Linked DNA regions of Homo sapiens: region 1 is linked to region 2. Evidence: promoter capture Hi-C in 16 types of primary human blood cells and fetal thymus (Javierre and others, 2016). All regions are on one chromosome and are shown on one strand. Each heading gives the region's core, a stretch centred on a gene start or on the middle of the fragment in contact. The rest is flanking DNA. Distances are from core to core; before and after follow the strand shown. Region 1 overlaps HSD17B6 (hydroxysteroid 17-beta dehydrogenase 6). Region 2 holds the start of LRP1-AS (LRP1 antisense RNA).

Region 1 (6,561 bases), core at 1,627-4,126, 380 kb after region 2:
TCACCACCTGCCTCTCCCGGTACCAGTGCAGAAGGTAGTACAGGCCCACGAAGGCCGCCAGGTAGAGCCACATAGTGAGGGTGCTTCCTTCTCTTTCAATAGAAAGAAAACATTTTATTCCTTCCTTATTATTTAACCAATATATCTATTCAGTATTTGCCATGTGCCAGGCATTGCACTAGGTGATAGGGACTCTTTATTGATTAATACTTAGTCCTACCCTCAAGGGGCCACAGTCTAGAGAGGGAAGTCAGTGAGGTAACCAAACAAATCCAATGCAGTGTGAAAGGTGCCATAACAGAAGTATACACACAGTCTACAAAGGAAGATGACCGATAGCCTAGCACAGAAGGAATGATTTTGGTACTACTTCCTACCAAATAGGATAAGTAAGTTCAAAAAGTGGATAAGGATGACAACATTCCAGGCAGTAACAATGTGTACATGAAGGGAGTCGTGAGCAGCACAGAACTTCTTGAGACCTATAAACAATTCTGCATGAGTGCAGAGCAGAACATACATAAGAAGAGACTGGAGATGAGGTAGTGAAGGGCCAAATCATGAAAGGCCTTGTAAGCCACACTACGGAATCTGGATGTTATCCTGTGGACAGAGTATGCTACTAGAAGACATTAAACAGAGTATGCTACTAGAGTCAGGTGGCCAGATTAAGTTTTAGGAAGATTTGTCTCACAATGGCAGTGGAGGATAGATGAAACAGGTGTGGTGAAGGCAGTGAGATCCATTAGGAGATCCAATAGTTTGGGTGAGTTATTGCAGCCAAAGCAATTTGTAAACCTAGACCAATCAGAAGCATTGTTGAAATGAGTGTTCACAGATGCCTATGTTTCTATATGAAATTCTGGAGCAAAGTCCACCATTTTTTAGTAATCTATACATGTTGGCTGAACTAACATAATTCATAACAACATAGGTAGAGGTCAAATATGGGTATGGGCCCGCTAGCATCATAAGGCCTATACCACAACGCCTGCATGAGGCTAGTCTATGCAATTCAAACTCCTTAGTTTGACATGAATGTCCCCAGCACTCTGGCTACTTAGGCTTCTCTCTTGCATCCTACTCTTTAGCCAAAACAAACAACTTTCAGTCCCCTGCAAAGCACAGGCTTTTTACGCCTCTGCATACACTTCTTTCTACTGGAAAGAAGTAGCCCTCATCTACTTGGCAAATAACACTCTTTTTTTTTTCTTTTTTTTTTTTTTTTGAGACAGAGTTTCACTCTTTTTGCCCAGGCTGGAGTGCAATGGCGCAATCTCAGCTCACTGCAACCTCCGCCTCCTGGGTTCAAGTGATTCTCCTTGCCTCAGCCTCCCGAGTAGCTGGGATTACAGGCACGTGCCACCAAGCCGGGCTAATTTTGTATTTTTAGTAGGGAGAGAGTTTTTTACCATGTTGGCCAGGCTAGTCGTGAACTCCTGACCTCAGGTGATCCACCCACCTTGGCCTCCCAAAATGCTGGGATTACAGGCATGAGCCACCACACCCAGCCATAACACTCATCTTTTAAGTCTCAGCCTAATCATCACTTTCATTCAGCAAACATTAATTCAACAACTACTTGAGTCAGACACAGTGTTAGGCACTGATACACAAGAGTGAACAATACATAGTCCATTTTTCATTGAATTCACAGTCTCATTATGAAGACTGACAACAATGCATTATAACAGAAGTAAAAACAGGAGGCTGCTGGAACACTCAGGAGAGGCTTCTAAGGCAGTTTAGAGAGGTCTGAGAAGCTTCCTAGAGAGAATAAAATATAAGTTGAGATCTACAGGTGTACTAGTCCGTTTTCACACAGCTATAAAGATACCACCCGAGACTGGGTAATTTATAAAGAAAAGAGGTTTAATTGATTCACAGTTCCACATGGCTGGGGAGGTCTCAGGAAAATTACAATCATGGTAGAAGGGGAAGCAAACACATGATGGCAGGAAAGCAAAAGCAAGCAAGAGAGGAACTACCAAACGCTTATAAAACCATCAGCTCTCATGAGAACTCAACATGGGGGAAACCACCCCCATGATCCAATCACCTCCCACCAGGTTCCTCCCTAAACACCTAGGAATTACAATTCAAGATATGATTTGGGTAGCGACACAAAGCCAAACCATATCAAAAGGATAATTAAAAAATAATAGCTAGGCCAGGCACACTGGCACATGCCTGTAATCTCAGCATGTTGGGAGGCCAAGGCAGGCAGATCACCTGAGGTCAGGAGTTTGAGATCAGCCTGGTCAACATGGCGAAACCGCATCTCTACAAAAATACAAAAATTAGCCAGGCATGATTGTGGGCGCCTGTAATCCCAGCTACTTGGGAGGCTGAGGCAGGAGAATCGCTTGAACCCGGGAGGTGGAGGTTGCAGTGAGCCGAGATCATGCCATTGCATTCCAGCCTGGGTGACAGAGCGAGATTCTGCCCATCTCAAAAAAAAAAAAAAAAAAAAAAAATTGCAACCCTTGCCGAGCACTTGCTGTGTATCAGGCTCTGTTCTAAGATGTCACATATATTAACTTTTTGAATTCTCACAAGAACCCTACAAGACAGGTCCCATCATTATTCCTCTGTGTCAGTTCAGATACCAAGACAAAATTAGACATGCAAGAGATTATGGGGGAAACACCCTCAGAGGACAAAGGGGGAAGGCACAGGAATAGGTGGTAATGCAGATCTGACACCTCGGGAAGGAGAGGGGAACAGAAGGAGGAGAAGATAGGAAGAGCTTTAGACTGTAGTAGAGCCCCAAGAAAGTCTCAGCCAGGCCCATGAGCCTGAGCAAAGACTGCCACTGGAGAAGTTCCACACTGGGCTGAACTGGTCCAGCTCCAGTACTGCCATCCTTCTGGTCATTGGCTGACCAGTGCCCAAGAGGAGCGTGCCTCAGTGTAAATACCACAGCAGATCGGAGGGTGCCACAACTGGAGGCTGGAAGTCAACCTCACTCCTCATAGCAGATTTTCTTGAGTGATCTGAGCAATGCACCTCAATGGCTGCCACACTGTTTCATAGGTGAGCACTGAGAGATTACATACAGTACTAGACAGAGGGGACAAAAAATGGTCCAGGCAAGAGACTTTCCTGCCCTGATTTAACCTGCCCCATGGTCTAACAGAATTGACTATACCCTCCTTAGTGTCCCCATTGTGGCCTGGGTTTATCATGATGCCTGCTGTACTTCATTGCACTGCTCTTCCCCATTTTTAGACTATAAGGCCCTTGAGAGCCCAGGTTACATATTAGTCTGCACCTGGCCCAGTGAATGGCACATAGCAGATACTTAATAAATGTTAGATAAATTAAGTTATACTAAGTAAAAATATCCTGATAAAAAATTGAGAGAAAAAAAGCAGGGAGAATGAGCCAGAGAAGTAGGAAAAAGCAAGCTGATGAAAGCCAAGGAAAGGGGGGCTTAATGAGGATCAGCAATGCAACCAGGAGGTCTGCTGGGTAATAGGAGGGCACTGGTGCTCTTAACGGGAAGACTCAGACAGTGAAGGGCACAGAAGCCAATCTTCAGTGGGCTGCTGCATGAATTGGAGGGCAGGAAGTGGAGCCGAGTGGAGACTCTTTTTCAAAAGCCTGGTCTGGGAAGGAGAGGAGAGAAGGCAGTAAGTAGCGAGAGGGCAACTTAGGGTGTAGGCAAGTAAAGTGGAAGGAGACAGTGAAAGGGAGAAAACAGTGGAGAGAGGCATATATTGCTCCTCCCTCCCCCACCATCTTCTCTTTCTCTCCTTTTCCCCTCTTCCCTCTGTCTCTCTCCTTCCTTCTCTGAAGCCCTTTGCCTCTCTCCAATCTGAGAGCTCTGTGTTCTCTAGCCAGCTGCCTCTGTTCTGCCTAAGTGGCATTCCCTGGTGCACTACAGTAACACAGAGAGCTTCAACCTGACTGTTTATTGACTAAAAGGTAATTTTCTGTTGCCAGTCAAAGATGAAAACGTATTTCCCCCATTAGAGAGAAGCTTGGCCCTCACAGTTTCCCCGGGCATTACTATTCAGCCATCGCATGCCTAGCAGCAAGAAGACCTGCAGAAGAGATACACCTGGCGGAATCCCAAACCCTAGGCCAAACCTGAATGTGCCTCGAATATTTCAAATGTCCAAATACCCGAAGTGGCGTGGCCTGCTTGCTTTTACAAACCATTCATCTGCAAAAGCTGTGCAATTACTTTACGTTTTTGCCTTTGACTCAAATTATTTATACACAGTACTTAAGCTGCTATTTCTTGATTTACCAATTTTTGACATTCTCAATTAACTTCCTGCTATGGTAAATAAGAATTCAGCTTTCTTACATCATATTGTCAGTCTCTTCCTTTCTCATCTACACTATGCTATCTGGTTAATTTTATTTAATGAGTTTTGAGGTCGAGCCTAGAAAACACCTTCATAATCACACATGCATAGGTTAAGAACTTCCACTGTTTATTTCAGGTCTGATCCCCATCTTGGGCTTCATCATTGCTTGAAGCTACTCTCCCACAAAGATCTTGAAAAGCTAGGCCAGGCACGGTGGCTCACGCCTGTAATCCCAGCACTTTGGGAAGCTGAGGCAGGCAGATCACCTGAGGTCAGGAGTTCGAGACCAGCCTGGGCAACATGACTAAGCCCCATCTCTACTAAAAATACAAAAATTAGCTGAGTGTGGTGGCAGTGCCTGTAGTCCCAGCTACTTGGGAGGCGGAGGCACAAGAATCGCTTAAACCTGGGAGGCAGAGGTTGCAGTAAGCCAAGATCACGCCACTGCACTCCAGCTTAAGTGACAGAGTGAGACTCTGCCTCAAAAAAAAAAAAAAAAACCTTGAAAAGCTGAAACTGCCCTCTCTGCACAGCCCCATCCTATCTTTGGGGCTCTTCCCCTCCCCCCACTCCCCTCTACTTCTTTCTTCCTGCTCTGCCTTCCTTTTCCTCAGTCTCTCTCTATTACTGCAATCCTCTCACAGTTTCATTTGCCTCCTTATTCAGCACAGGTCTCATAGTTGGCCATTTTAGGGGTGCTTCACTAGCACCCCAAAGCCTTTACCATCCATGTTCTCTAGCTGCCAGCTGCCAAGTGGTGCTAGAGAAAGACCAGAAAACAAACTTTTATACAACAAATCAATGTTATCCTATCTCAGCTGCGCCCCCTCCCCCCCGCCCACCGCCAATATAAGGCAAACCTTCTGTTTGCCTCCATTTGACTCCTCCCTTATTATTTCGCAACAACACCTGTTCCAAATCTTTACTAGCCTTCAAAATTTCCCAACCTCATGTTTACCTAGCTCTCCTTCCACAGATGAGCATACACGTTGCTTCCCTGCCAAAATCCAGATCTGCTCAACCTGGACACTCTAATTCCTACCCACAACATTTTGCCTGTCATCTCAGGGGGTTCCAGGGCCCAGTGAGGCTACCTCTGCTCTAAATTTCTCTGTATTGTCTTCTATCCTCTTTCTTCTGCCTTTCATCCTCCCTAAGACCATCCTAACCTGCCACCCCTTTAATAACCATCCTCTCTCTTCCCCATATGGCCAAAATATTCAAAGGGCAAGCACAGGCCCTCTATTTTCTTGCCACCCACGAGCTCCTTGCACTTCACCTTCCATTCCCATCACTCTCTGGAAACTCTCTCACAGCTCACCAAGGACCTATTAGCAGACAATTCCCAAGGCTTCCTCTCTCTTCTCCTCAGACCTCACTGCAATATTTAGCACATTCTTTTTTCTTATGATTTTATCTGATTCTTAGATCCTAACCTGGCCTTCAGTGAAGAAGAAGAAGATTGCTTTCAGATCGTGCCATGCTCTCATTGGATTCTGTCTGTGACTCCCTGTCACCCACAGGATAAAGTCAGAACTCCTCAGCTTGACACACGATAATAATAGTGAACAGTTATAGAGAACTTTCCTTGCCAGGCACTGTGTGAAACCATATATATATATACACAATATACACACACACACACACATGGTTTCACACATATATATGTGTGTGTGTGTATATTGTATACGTGTGTGTATACATTGTATATATATGTGTATATACGTGTATATATACACGTATACACACACATATATTTTTATATATACACATATATACACACATATATATTATATATACACACATATATATTATATATACATAATATACACAATATATACACATATATATACGTATATATAATACATATATATTATATATGTGTGTATATATGTGTATATATAATATACCCTCTATTGTGTATATATAATATATACACTATATATATAATATATATAATATATTAATATAATATATATGTTATATATTAATATATGTATGTGTATATATATAATATATATACACAATAGAGGGTATATGCAATTATTTTGTTTTTGTTTTTTTTTTGTTTTCGTTTTGTTTTGTTTTGAGAGGGAGTCTCGCTCTGTCCCCGGGCTGGAGTGCAGTAGCGCGATCTCGGCTCACTGCAAGCTCTGCCTCCCAGGTTCACGCCATTCTCCTGCCTCAGCCTCCCGAGTAGCTGGGACTACAGGCGCCTGCCACCACGCCCGGCTAATTT
Region 2 (6,871 bases), core at 3,897-6,396:
AAATCCCATCCCAATGCCTGGAGAACAAGGCCACAGAGACGAGGTATTACCCCCGTAAGTATTCATGCATCCCCAAGCCCAGCCACTCTTTCCTCTGGGCCCCCAGTACTGTCCCATCCTCACAAGATTGGAGAGAGGGGGAAGAGTAGCTTGAGGAGGCCAAGGCCCTGTAGGAAGAGGGCCTAGTGCAGGGGTAAGGCAACCAAATTCTTTGCCCCACACGCTGTAACCACAGAGAAAACAGATTCAAATGAATGCTGCTGGGCTGCCTCCAAAGGAAATCGAAGTCTCAAAGCAGGGACCTGCCTGCATCCCCTGGCAGCCAGCAGGGTGGCTGGAAGTCAAACAGGGCTGCGTGCCCTTTACTTGGTGGGCACGGCAGGGGTCTGGGGGCTGCTGGCATGTGTATGAACTTCATCAGTGAAAGCTGTTTTCCCAGCACCAGCTGGCGCAGCTACGGCCGGCCTTCTCTCCGACTTCCTGAGGCTTCCCTGAGTCACTGCCCAGCCCTAGGGCTGGCAATACCCTGCCCCTGCTCCCCCTATCCACCCTTCTCTTGGCAAGAGAGAGAAGGAAGAAACCTGCAGAGATCTGATGCCGCTATCCCAGGTGCAGCTCCACAATCAGCCCCCCCAGCCTCAGGATGTGGCCTGGATTCCCTCCCAATTCCGGGAAGGAAGGCAGAGAGATCATCCCTGCTCTCAGATATTTACCCTTGGCCGGTCTCCCTTCCACCTCCCCAAAGGCCAGGCAGGGCCCCACTCAGCAGGCCGGTGAGGAGTTGGCAAGAACTGGAGTCCTCGGCCTGCCTGGCCTCCCCTTTGGTATTTTTGCAGCTGGAGACTATTAGTTGCAAGCAAAAATCCTTTGTTATCCAACCCCCTGCACCACATTATTTTTCTCTCTCCTAAAGTTCAGATTCCTCTGCCTGCCCCACCACACACACACGCACATACGCACGTATGCACACACAAATGCACGCACAATCACACACACACACATACACTTGGCCACCACTCCAAGGCCAGTGTAGAGAGATGGGCTCAAAGGGAGAGGAGGAACCTTGCCTCCAGGGCTGCCCTATAGGCAGTATCTGGGCCACCCCTCTCTGTCTTATGAATTGGGGTCCAGGTGGAGTCCTGGGCTTCAGCCCAGAGATCCTGAGCATTCTGGCTCCACCAACCCTGAGGGGAGCCGTCCCCTTGTCGCCCAGCCTTCTAAGGGCCAACCACCTGAGCGCACCTTCTGAAGAGGCTCTGGCCAAAGGCCGAAAATCCTGAGGACAGGAGAATCTCAAATAAACCAAAGGGGAGAGAGGGAGGCTGTGTTGTGGAAGGAGTTGGGGGTGGTCTAGGGGCAGAGGGGCAGGGGATTCCAGCATGAAGAGGGAGGCTAGGAAGCAGGGAAGAGGTGCAGGAGTCAGACGAGAGACCACAGCTGCCCATTATGGCACAGAGGACTTTCAGTTCCAGGCCCCAGAATAGACCTGGTGTCCTGGCACCCCATCCCACTGCTCAGCATCTGCACTCACTACAACTCCAGCTTTTCTCAACTTCTCCATCATTCCCATTGTTCAAGAGGCATTTCCATACATGGTGGCTGCTTTCCCAAACACATGGGACCCACCCCATGCCCAAAAAGACTCTAGCTTCAGCTGCAGGATTCTAGTCACCTGCTCTAAAATAAGGAAATCGGAAGGAAGGAAGAAGCCTTTATGTCCTGAGAAAATGTCACCCAACACATCTACACACCCAAGAGTGTATACACATCCAAAGAGGTCCCTGGACCTCTATCCACATCCCCAGGGAGCACACTAGATTCTGGCCCTTGTTCCAGGAACCTCCCCACCTCTCCTCATATCATTCTGCTCTGCCCTGGGTCCAACTGGGCCCTAGACACTGACAGCCTGAGTTTGAATTCTGGTTCTGTCACCTTCCAACTGAGGCTATGAGCAAGTTACTTAATGCCTCTGAGTCTCTGTTTCCTCATTTGTAAAACTGGATGGTACACTAACTGCACTTAGCATGAGGCCTGGTGCATGATAAACACTCCCCACATGGGGGCTGCGGTTCCCACCATGTCCTCCCCTCCCTGAACCCATCCTTTCCCACCTTTTCCACCAAGTCGCCCTCTGTGCCTCCAGCCAGAGCCCTGTGGCCTCCTGACTCTAGGTGGGCCCTCCAGGTGGGCCATTTGGGGCTAACACCTACTACTCGTCAAGACTCGGCTCAGGCTCCCAGAAGGAAGCTTGCCCTATTAGAAGGAAGTTTTCAAGGCCAGGCTCAGTGGCTCACGCCTGTAATCCCAGCACTCTGGGAGGCTGAAGCAGGTGGATCATGAGGCCAGGAGATCGAGACCATCCTGGCTAACATGGTAAAACTCTGTCTCTACTAAAAACACAAAAAATTAGCCAGGCGTGGTGGCGGGCACCTGTAGTCCTAGCTACTCGGGAGCCTGAGGCAGAAGAATGGCGTGAACCCGGGAGGCAGAGCTTGCAGTGAGCCAAGATTGCATCACTGCACTCCAGCCTGGGCGACAGAGTGAGACTCCATCTCAAAAAAAAAAAAAAAAAAAAGAAGGAAGTTTTCCTGTTACAGGCTCCATAGGCCTCTGGAGCTTCTTTGATCATGGCCTCTTCACCTGACTGCAAATACTGTAAGGAGAGCGCTGCCTTTTGTCTTTGTCTCAGGCGTCTGACACACATGTATTGATCCATTGAACAAATATTTATTGAAGACTGAGTCTGTTGTTCTAGAGCTGGGACATCATTTTCCCCCTCTCTTCTACTGCCAGGATCCTGCCTCTCTGGCCTTGGGACACTCCAAGACAGTGGGAGAGGACAGTCTGTCTAGTAATCCTACTCAGGGATCTCGCCTGGGCCTGGGAGAGATGGCGGAGAGTCTGAGGACTTCGAAGGTGGGAAGGAGACCTCCTGGCGAGCCTGGCAGAAGCTCTGCTAAACGATGTGGCCTCATGCTCCTTGTTTCCTGCTGGGTCCCGACTTCAGCTCTTCCTTCCACCAGCCAGTCTGGAGCTTAGCCGTGTTGTGTCACCTCGTTCTCCTGGGCTCTCTTCCTGCTCCTGCCTGTGATTCCAGCCTGTGGTTATGTCCTGCTACCTTCCCCTGCCTGGCTTAGGTCCCCAAGAGGCATTTCGACCTAGATCCCAGGGATGATGCCTGGATTCCACTCAGCCCATCTTAGGGTCTTCCCTCTATTGAGAAATCCTTGCCGGGCTCTAAAACACATCTCTCTTGCTTAAGTTACTTCCTTTGGCTTGAAAACAGCAAGGGGAGTGCTGGGAGCAGTCTGGGTGGAGAGGCAATTTCAAGGAGACAGCGGGGGAGGAGAGGACAGGGCTGGATCTGGGCCGGGAGACACAGGGCTGGCCCGGGCCAGGAGAGAGGAGGAGCAAGAGTGAGCTGTTAAATGATTAGGAAACTCAGAACAGGAATGGGAAGCAAAAGTGCCAGGATGCAGGGGGCCTAAGGCCAAAGAGTGGGGTGGCTAGAGCCACCCCTCCCCAAACAGCCTGGCATCCCATGGGTCAGAAAGGCCAAGGATGGGCATGGTTAGCTTTCACATGTGAAGTCTGGAAGTGCTTTGTAGGCAGGGTGGGAGGCTGAGAGGGTCCAGGGGTGCCCAGCACAGTGGGGAGGTAGCACCCCTTCCAGCAGCAGCAGCCAGTTCATTAGACTCAGAGGGACTGCTGTCTGCCCCTTCTTTGCCTCCCCTCTAGACAAATCACTACCCCATTTCCTGTTGTGATTTCGAAAACACACACACTAAAAAAATAAATAAATAAAAGAAAGGGAGAGGAAGGGAAAAGTGAAGTTGGCCAGCTGGACCTGGGACCCATTTCGCAACCTTGCTGCCTGCAGCCTAGGGGCCCTTTGCTGAGCTCCCCAGCCACCTCCTTCTTCCCCATGCAGCATGGTGCAGGGAGGGGAACCCTGAGACCTCTGAGAGCCCCTTCAGACCATCCTTTCACACACAGTCCAAACTCCTGAGTGACTTCAGCAAACCCGATTTCCTTCAAGGCCTCTATTTACAACCTCAGAACCTCCCCTCACCATACACACCCATGTTCCCAGGACCCCAATCTTGCAGTCTGCCTCATTCTTTCTACAGTGGTGGCATCCTCCAAGGTGAAGGGAATACAGATCAGAGGAGCTCAGCTTAGGAAATGCAGGGCTGGGCTGGGGTCGGTAGACTGCACCACCAGGCCTGCCCAGGGGCAGCCTGGCAGGAGGCTGGACAAAGCTGGGTTACAGGCTCCATAGGCCTCTGGAGCTGAGAGACTGGTCAGAGGTGGGGGTGAGAGTGCGCAGGCCTGGTTCCTGACTAAGGGACTATCAGGCCTGTTGATCCCTCTGGGCCTCAATTTTCAGAACTTTAGTCTTTTGTGTATCACTTTCAAAATGTCTACCATGCTTATGTACAGCTTGCGCTACTGTTTATTACCAGTTATTTCAATTAACTTACTTTTCTTATTTCGCTGCATGCTAAACAATTGCTGAAGTAACAGATTTGATGTGCTAGTTACAGGAGTTTCCTAATGCATATCAAATAAAAACGTAACTATAACAGTTAAAAAAAAAAAAAAAAAGCTTGTCCAGGTACCATCTAAAATCAAATCAATGCATAGCCCCTTTGAGAAAGCAGTAGTGAAAGCCAGGGCTGCTCTTGGTACTGGCCAAGGGTCTTGCCTTCTCTTCCGGCTCTCACCATGGAGTTCTCTGGTCTTGGAATTCGAGCCTCATAGACCTCCCCAAACCACTGGGCCAGCGGCAGAGGGGAGGGGGAGGTAATCTCAGGTGGGAGGAAAAGAGATGACCCACCCAATCCAGGGGGATAACACTGGGCCTGAGGCAGGAGGGTCAGCAGCCCTGGGGCATTGAAGAGGAATGTTCACACACTGCAGGGCCTCAGGGGGGCCCTCGGGGGCTCTCAGGACTCCACAACAGGTCTGACTCACATGGCCCAGGACACATGTGAACCAGGCTCATTTCCTGGCCTCCTTCCTTCTTTCTATTCTATTTCTGCTTCCAGAGTTTTCTCTGGGGCAGGCTCCCCCTTCTGCCTGCACCAGCGGGCTGGCCTCGCTGGCTCGAACACCCCTCAATTGTCAGACTCCTCCCTCTGTGTGCACCCCTGCTGCATGAGGCTCAGCCCCAGGGGTCCAACAGAGGTCACAGTCACAGCACAGAATGGAAGGCTTGCAGGGAGGGCTGCCCTGGAGGGCAGAGTGAAAGCAGGGGAAAGCTGCAGCCTTTCTTCTTCGTCCTCCTTGGGGAGCTAATTACAGGCCAGCAGCCACTGTGCAGGTGAGTGCCTGGGACCAGCCACCCTACACACCAGGGCAGGCCAGTCAGCATCTCCTGGGGAGGGGGATGACCCAGAAACTGGGGGAGGGGCTAGGGGAGAGACACTGACGTCCTCAGTTTGGGACCCATAATTAGTTTGTGGGAGAGAGCAAAACAACCATCCTCAGGGTGACAGCCAGACATTCAGGCGGCAGGGACGTGGAGCAGGGGGAGGGCAGGGAGGAAGGGACAGAAGCTGGGATGAGAGAAACCCACTCATTTACCCCACAAGCATTTCCCCTTGGACTCTTCTAGCCTCCTGGACTCTGCCCCTGAGAGGCCCAGTGAGTTTAGCAGACTGGGAGGCAAGGCAAATCTGTTTGCCAAGGGAGGGGTACCAGCTTCTCCTGGGGAGGAAGTCAGATAAGGAGATGAGGCCAGAGTAGAAGTTGAGAAGGTTACCTCCAGGACACCCCATAGCCACCTACCCAGAAGCCCACTGTATGGCAAGATGCAGGGCTGGGGAGGAAACTGACAAGCTGTCTGCCCAGACAGGCCTGTTGAGTAGGTCAGTGGACAAGGAACAGGGGGAGGGCAGCTGCACAAGAGGGTCTAGCACCAATCCCACCCCATCAGCCATGGGGTTCCCTGAGTCGCCCACTCGTTAAGAGCTCAGCCAACCAGGCTTGACAGCCCCCAGCTCAGCACCCCAAGGAGGACACATGTCTGATCACAGGTGAGCTGTGGACAGCAGCAGCCCAAGGACGCTATCAGGGATGCTCTGGAGGAGCCAAAGGCAGAAATGTGAACCTTACGCTGAGGCCACGGAGAGTGAGGGCTCTCAGAGGAACCCCTGCTCGCCACCATCCCGGGGAGGGGCCTTTCTCTCTCCCAGAATGAATCCCTTGTAACCTCCTGGGATCTTTCTTTTCATCACAAGAACCAAATAAAGAAACTTGAAGATCTTCTAGAGAGGCCCAAGGTTCACAATCCTCAACTTCAAAGTGTGCTGTCCTTTACCACTGGCTTTCACTCCAGTTAATCTGATCTAGACAGACAAGCTCAAACCCATTATGCAGATTAGGAAACCAAGGCAGAGATGGGAATTCTGGTTTACTAAACAGTTACAGATCAAGTTAATCTCCCTTAGGGGGTCAGATCAACCACAGGCCAGATTCTTCCTCTCAGCCCTGTGGTGCATTTCTTTGGAAATGTGATGCTGCCAGATGTTGACTTTTAAGGTTGCTGGTGTAACAGCCTCTGAGATGGGCAGGGCTGTTCCCGGCAGTGGGTCTACACCCAGCTATGCTCGTGCCCCTTTCTGTGACACCCCTTCTTCCACAACTAGGATAGCAAAAGTGTAGCCTAGGGAGAAGCCTGAATGGAAGCATCCAGGATATTCTAAAATCTCATGTGGCTCACGCTCCTCTCCCAGCCTCATTCACTGCCACAAAGCCACAGAGAAATAACCTCAGTACTGCCCTCCCCCGATGGCAGCAGAGAGTCCATTGGCAATGGTCCCCGAGGGAAACGATGGCCCATGGAGACAGAGCAGCTGGGCCCCAG

The links. The method cuts DNA at HindIII sites, captures the fragments that hold promoters and counts their contacts. A CHiCAGO score of 5 or more calls a contact.
Region 1: a contact is called between a fragment that was not itself captured here and the fragment with the promoter of LRP1-AS in region 2, in 6 of 17 cell types (naive CD4 T cells, erythroblasts, naive B cells and 3 more). The highest score is 6.7, in naive CD4 T cells.

Annotation. Positions count from the first base shown.
Region 1 is chr12:56,767,365-56,773,925 of GRCh38, reverse strand. It overlaps HSD17B6 (hydroxysteroid 17-beta dehydrogenase 6), which reads right to left. Exons shown (of 5, transcript NM_003725.4): 2 at 1-92. The coding sequence starts at 73. Among named protein-coding and RNA genes, the nearest start is that of HSD17B6, 7.3 kb to the right of the region's middle. The HindIII fragment of the contact is 2,222 bases long and covers 1,766-3,987 here.
Region 2 is chr12:57,145,894-57,152,764 of GRCh38, reverse strand. It overlaps LRP1-AS (LRP1 antisense RNA), which reads left to right and starts at 5,146. Exons shown (of 2, transcript NR_131938.2): 1 at 5,146-5,326. All of the region lies in intron 6 of LRP1 (LDL receptor related protein 1), which reads right to left. RefSeq lists enhancers at 2,819-3,746, 5,604-6,532. The HindIII fragment of the contact is 5,560 bases long and covers 4,612-6,871 here.